Linked DNA regions of Homo sapiens: region 2 is linked to region 1. Evidence: promoter capture Hi-C in human tissues and cell types (Jung and others, 2019). All regions are on one chromosome and are shown on one strand. The core of a region is centred on a gene start or on the middle of the fragment in contact, and the rest is flanking DNA. Distances in the headings are between cores, read along the strand shown. Region 1 holds the start of SLC25A43 (solute carrier family 25 member 43). Region 2 has its middle 44 kb from the start of SLC25A43.

Region 1 (3,446 bases), core at 617-3,116:
CAGGTAGTGGAGCTCAGCTCGGTCACTGACAAGAGGTGTCATCACTCTGAGCCCAATTCTGCATCTGTAAAACAGGCACAATGCTTCCTGTCCTATGGACCTTACAGGGCAGGAGGCAGGAGCTTAAAAAATCTAATGTGCATATACTAGGTGCTTAGCAGAAGAGCCACAATACTTAAACCAGCCTTTGAAGTTCTGCCCCCCACCCCTCTGGACATATTTTATCCCATCCAAAGGAAGATTTCCACACTACTTTGTAGAGAAGAGGGTGAAGTGGGGGAGAAACTGAGTCATTAAGACTCAGAGGAGAACTGTTTACAGACTGCAGGCCAGATGTTGATGAGGGCAAGCAGAGGTGGGGAGGAAAAAGGGCCTTAACTAAATGTCATGGTCCCACCCATGAGTCCCTCTGCAGAGGAAGAGAAGGGAACTCTATTTCCAGGCAGAGGCAAAATGAGTACTGGCCTAGAGGCCTAGGTAATAAGGATGATTCCGTTCGGCTTGTCGGCTGCCAGGTGAGCCTTCCACCTCTGGCCTCCCAGGTGAGTGACAGTGTCAAGGCAAAATCCTTTGACTATTAGCCGCCAAGACTAAACTATGCGGTCAAGACCGACTCTCCCAAATGTGGGCTGTTTGTCTAATTCAGAGCCAAGGCGATATCAAAGATGCCACTGTGCCCACTGAATGAGGAACACAGGGACCGTCCCCCCAATACAGAAACATCTCTGCTTCCTGAAATGCCATCACTACCAATTCATTCTTTCAGGCTTGGTTTCCAGTTCAAATGCAGGTACCTCTGAGCTCGGTGGAAGCTTTAAGGCTGCATTTACACCTTTAGATCTTTTCCTAAGGAGCAGCTGTTGATGTGGGAGAAGGTGGAAAAGGCCCAAATAAATGAGGCCAGTGGGGTGAAGCGGTAGGCTGAGGGGGCCGTTCTCAGCTTGGGGAGGGGAAGCTGCAGCCTCTGTCGGAGCCTGAAGTCAAGCTTCATTTAAGTTGGGGAGATGTGTGGGCAAAAATCTGCGGCCTTTTCGTATCGATGGATCGGGTCCTTTCCCCACACCAAGCACTTTCTTCTCGGGGCTTGGGTCACACAGACAAAAACACCTTTAAAAGGGTCTCTCTCTTCCTAAGCCAGCCTAAGCAAAAGTTTCCAAATTGGAGGACGGTGGAAATGGTTAGGACTCATCTCTCTGGAGAGCTTTTCATTCCTTTCCTCCAAATCCTTTGCTGCATTCCACCTCCTCGCCCGGTCCAATCCGGAAAGCCTCTCGGACCAGGGCTGCGGACCACAAAACTGCATCTTGCAGGGCGGTAACCCCAAGAGAACGTGAAAAGCATTGGGGCTGCACTCTGGGGGCCATAGAGGTGGCCCACCGCCCCGAGGGGTCCCCAGGTGATCGACAAGGGGGCCGTCCCTACTCCAGGGCCCCGAGTCCAGGCAGCAGGGCGGCGTCGGGCCGCGGCTCCCCCACCCCACCCCCGTCCGGTCTCCCGGTTCCCCGGCCCCGCCCGGCTCTTACTTGCGGTAGGCGGCGAGCTGCACGGCGCTGCAGGGGAAGAGGCGCAGGCACGCCACCGCGTTCCCCTTCCACAGGGCCCGGAGCCCCTCTGCCCGCCACACCCGGTGCCCTGTGGCCCACGGTCCCCGGGCGTGGCCTCGCACGACGCCAACCTGGGCCAGCACGGTGGCGAGCTCCAGGGGCGCGGTGAGGCTGAGGCTGAGCGTCCCCGCCAGCCCAGCGCACAGCAGCCTTTGGCCGCCTGTCAGTCGGCCGTCCCGCCTCCACGTAGCCATCGAGCCCCGACCCGGGCCCGGAAGACCGCGTGGCTCGGGCCTGGGGCTCTCCGGCCACGGGCGGAGGTGGCGGGCCCCAGGCCCCGCCCGGCATGGGGCGGGCCCGCGTGAGGGACGGGAAGCCCCGTCTACGCCCTAGCCTGGCCCGAGGCTGGTCGGGGGTGGGGCGCGAGGGCCTGGAGGGTCCGGGGTCCGAGGCCGCGGATATCATGGGCATAGTCTCCCCAGTTGGCAAGGCTCGAGTAGCGACTTTCAGTTGCGAAACAGTTACTGTTCTCTCAAGGCCCAGCCTGCTAGACATCTTGCTTCCTAAATGTTCAGTGCGCCCCCGCCGCCCCTCCCTGCCTCTCCTCTGGTTTGCCCCTTTTCTCCCTTTCACGTGCCACTTCTCTGTCTTCCTCCCCTGGCGCTTCCCTCCTCCTCCTCTTGCCTCCAACCCATTTTTTTTTCCTGCCTAACCAAAAAGCCTTGATGGTTTCCCAGTGCAGAAGGTAAAAAATTCTAACAACCACAGTTGCTATCTCTCAGGCACTTGTCAAGTACTGGGCTTTACAGACGTTCTCATGTAATCCTCAAAACGGCCCTAAGTACGTATGTCCTCATTGACAGAGGCTGTGTGGGTGTGGGGACTTGAATCTGGACTCTTGAACCTGTGTAAGATTCTTGGCTCTGCAGCTTACCAGCTGTGGGACCTTGGGGAAGTCACTCAACCTCTCTGTGTGTCAGTTGCTTTATAAAACAGAGATTATAATTTTTTCCTCCTAGGGGTTGTTGTAAGGATTAATGAACAATGACTGGTATGGGTAAGCAGTTTATATGTGTTAGTTCTGATTAGGTATTCATTTACAGGAGAGGAAACCAAGACACAGAGAGGACTTGCTCAGGCTCACACAGCTACCTACAAAGCAGAGACCGGTTTGAAATCTAGGGCGGTTTATGTCAGTTTCCACTAACGGCTACACTATATGTCTACTAGGACTGCAGAGTTAACTCCAGTAGGGACATTTTCAGTGGTTCTGTAAGCTAAGAGAACAATAGAGGCAAAGAATGGCTAAGAGAGGCTTGGCCAGAATCCGAGGATTCTTTAATCAGTTCAAAAATTTCAGAATTTCAGAATTTCTTTCTGTCTCTTTTTTTTCTAAAAAAGCCATGTCACTAATAATTACAAGGAAAGGAACTGTCAGCAGTCTGTTGGTGTGAGCAAGATGTTCCGGGTACATAGTTGTTTTTAGGCTTGTATAGTTATTTACATTTACTAACACACAATGCTATAGGAACGTTTTCTAAAAGGCATTGCAGGGTTTCTCCTTTTTTATTTTTCACTGTCAATCTCACTTGAGTATGACATTACAAGGTTTTGACTGTGAGAACTTGTTCTAGTTGCAGAAGCCATACTCTGCTCTCAACAATTGGGGAATGCTTATTTTCATGTTTTGTGAATTCTTCTGTCTTGTTGTAAGCTAATTTGATGGCTGGGGGAAGCTTGAGAAAGATGTATGACTCTGAAGACCGGAGGACCCCGACTTTAAAAGGGCTTGAATTGGAATTTGGGGATTACAATAAGGAAACCTTCGGGTACTGGTACTTCCTAAAGCCCTTTGTTGGATAACGGGACAAGATTCTAAAGCTCTTTCAGGAAGTTCGTGGG
Region 2 (3,513 bases), core at 202-2,701, 44 kb after region 1:
AAAAAGTTTTTAACAATAGTTAAAAGACAGTATATGTTTTTCTAAAACCTTGTCATCACTAGGGCTATTAATCTTTTTAATATCTGCCAATCTGTAGTTTTCATTTCTATTTCTTAAATAAGTGTCAGGTTGAACATCTTTTCATATAATATGTTTGCTGGTAATTTGTAACTTGCCTTCTATGATTTCTCAATTTTCATCCTTTGTCGATTTGCCTGCCTTTTTAATCTTATTAATTTTATTTATTTATTTTTTTTTGAGACGAAGTCTCATTCTTGTCCCTCAGACTGGAGTGCGATGGTGCAATCTCGGCTCACTGCAACCTTCACCTCCCGGCTTCAAGCAATTCTCCTGCCTCAGCCTCGCGAGTAGCTGGGATTACAGGCACCTGCCCACCACGCCTGGCTAATTTTTGTATTTTTGGTAGAGATGGGGTTTCACCATGTTGGCTAGGCTGGTCTCGAACTCCTGACCTCAGGTGATCCACCCGCCTCAGCCTCCCAAAGTGCTGGGATTACAGGCGTGAGCCACTGTGCCTGGCCAATCTTATTAATTTATAACAGTCCTTTGTGTATTACCAATACTAGTCATTTGCTTTGTATATTTGTTACAAATACTTTCCCTATTTTTATGCTTCTTGGCTTTGTTTATGCTGTGTTTTGGCTGTTTATAAGTATTCAAATGTCATACAGGCAAATGATTAAATCTTTTTTATTTTTGATTGTAGATTCCAAGATTATAAAAATATTCTCCTGGCTGGGGCACAGTGGCTCACAACTGTAACCCCAACACTTTGGGAGGCTGAGGTGAGTGGCTCGCTTGAGGCCAGGAGTTCGAGATCAGCCTAGGCAACACATAACCCGGTCTCAAATAAATAAATAAATAAATAAATAAATAAATAAATTCTCCTACATTTGATTTTACTCCCTATATTGTTTTATTTTGAAATTGAAATCTTAATTCCATCTGGAATGTATTTTTGGGCAGGCAGTGAGGTAGGGATCTAGCTCTATATGTTTCTACATGGCTAGTGAGTTAAGGATATTTAGGTGCTAGTAAAGGTGCTAACTCAAGCTAGCTTGATGGGGGAAAAAAAAGGAATTTATTATAAGAATATGGAGTATTTCTCTGGAACCCAGATCTTGGATGGAGCTTAATCTCCCAAACGGCTGGAATCAGAGAAGGAAATGGTGTCAGGAATGCAAAGAGTAGCTTGTTGCCATTCCTCAGCTCTGCTGCCCTCTGAGCCTTGGCTTCATTCATCTCTGTGGCTGGGCTTTCTCGGCTACTTGGTCCTGTTGGTGGAAGCTGTGTATACCAAAGCTCAACACGTGAGCTTTTAGGTTTCCTCACTTAAAGATGCCAACCCTTCAGACTGGAAGAGACTCTGATCAGTCTAGCTTGGGTCAGGGGTTCACCTCTGATCCAACTAGCTTTGGCTAGGGAACATGGGTCACTTAATGTGTACATGGCTGTTGTGGACCCACTCCTGAAACCTTATGAATTGGAAAGGAGAAGATAGAAGATAGAAGTTCTCTGGGAAGAATCACTGTTACCTGGGCAGACACATCTACTACACTATTTGTCCCAGCACCATTTTTTTCAGCACTATTTTTGAACAATGTGTATGCCCACTAATAATCTCTTCCACTCTCCTGGATGACTTTTTCATGCTGCATTAACTATGGCAAGTGAACAGGGTTCCATTGCTAAAGGAGACTTAGAGGACTCAAATGGCATTACTCTCAAGTATATAGTTTACTACAGGAAAAGGATACAGCCAGGGGTCTGGAGTGGTCAGGTACAGGATCCTATTGTCCTCCTCTCTAAGAGCCGTGACAGCAGGATGCACTTTATCACTTGGACCAGGAACCACTGACATGTGCACAGAACACCTCAGAACCAGGGAGTCCAAAATGGACTCTCAGATGGGTTTTAAACAATTTTTTGACAGTCACACAGGCATATTTTAGCCTTAACAGTAGAGCCCTTTGAGGGAGGGACAGGTGTCACACTGAGACCAGGTACAAATAATCAGTCTCACTGTTACCAATACATAATGTCGACAAGCTCGGACAAACCACCATGAATCTGAAGACTCATGGCTACAAAACAACACCATTAACCAGTATGTTTTGTGTCTTGATAGGAGGTCAGTGTCATGCCAGAACTTCAATAAAACAACTAGGGCTAATTCTAGACCTGCTGGAATTAACCTCACAACCCATACTTTTTCCTTTCTCCTCTGTTTTTGGGTTCTGTTGTTTTAACAATTTCTTGTGATCTGAAAGATTTTTGTAAATCTTTTTTGCAGTAATTGAAGTCTGAATGTTCGATTTTATTTTTCTTACTTTGGACATTTACTTCAAATTTACTTCAAAATTTACCTCTAAAACATATGGACTACTTTGGAAAAACAAGGATTGATAACTCTTTATTCTATAGGCAGTGGCTAGCATTTGTTTTTTTGAGTTGACTTCTTAATCATTAAGAAAATTACTCGAATAATTCAGTTTACATCAAAATTCTCTTCTGCCTGCTTTTAGATTGAAAGTAAGTTCAACTTGCAGTATTCAAATACTGTGGAAACCCAGTTAATTTTCTAAATCATGCAAGGCAAAAACATCTTACCTAAAGAGCTTTCAAAAACTCACGATTAAAACATATTTTGGAATAGAATTACTTTATTTCAATTTTGCTTTATAAATGGAATGAACTGAAATGCATTAAACCCCAGAAACCTGTGTTGCCACCATTTGGTGTAATTCACATGCTGAAAATGTAATATTTTTAAAAGGCCCCAGAAAGCCCATAATAGGCTGTCTTACTCATGTTTGTACTCTCATCTTTGTTAAAGATAGCACATGGTCCCATTAGCCCCTGGACGTTGTCAGGCCAAATGCACAGAAGCATTAATTGAATACACAGAAGTCTCAATTAGGCAGTGGCTTTTTTTTTTGTCAGTAACATAAGGAGAAAAACATTTTGATTAAAGTTGGGAATGGGGAGGGGAAATTTTGTTTCCATTGCAGATACCTGATTAGCTATGAAAAGGGAACGTGCTCTCTTTAAGCTTTGGGTTAATAATCTGAAAACCTATTTCTCTGGCTTTTGTTAAAAAAAAAAACAATCAGATGTGATGCTGGAGGCAGAAACCATTAAAAGAAAAGAATGAAAGCATAGACCACATTTTAAAACTCTATTAAAATACCATAAATAATGTTGAAATTCAAACAATATATTTAGAAAAAAATATTTGCAGCCTATATGAGATGATTCTAACTAATTGATTAACATAAAAAGATACAAGCTTAAATAGAAAAAATTGGAAAGGACCCAGTTGTGATACAAAGTAAGAAATATAAATGGAAATAAAGATTAAAATGTGTTCTGCTTCACTGGTGATCAAAGTCATGCAAATTAAAATCATATTGCTATTTTTACAAACCTACCGGGGTGGCAAAGATTAAAAGATTATTAGTATCTAGTGCTTAAAATGGTGTGTCAAAAGGG

Evidence for each region. The method cuts DNA at HindIII sites, captures the fragments that hold promoters and counts their contacts. A contact is called where the count stands out against the background at its distance.
Region 2: a fragment that was not itself captured here is called in contact with the fragment with the promoter of SLC25A43 in region 1 in 1 of the 25 tissues and cell types used here (pancreas).

The regions. Positions count from the first base shown.
Region 1 is chrX:119,397,756-119,401,201 of GRCh38, reverse strand. SLC25A43 (solute carrier family 25 member 43) reads right to left here and starts at 1,866. Exons shown (of 5, transcript NM_145305.3): 1 at 1,524-1,866. The coding sequence starts at 1,798. RefSeq lists a silencer at 1,343-2,002. The HindIII fragment of the contact is 7,658 bases long and covers 1-3,446 here.
Region 2 is chrX:119,353,659-119,357,171 of GRCh38, reverse strand. No RefSeq gene overlaps it. Among named protein-coding and RNA genes, the nearest start is that of SLC25A43, 44 kb to the left of the region's middle. The HindIII fragment of the contact is 4,365 bases long and covers 1-3,513 here.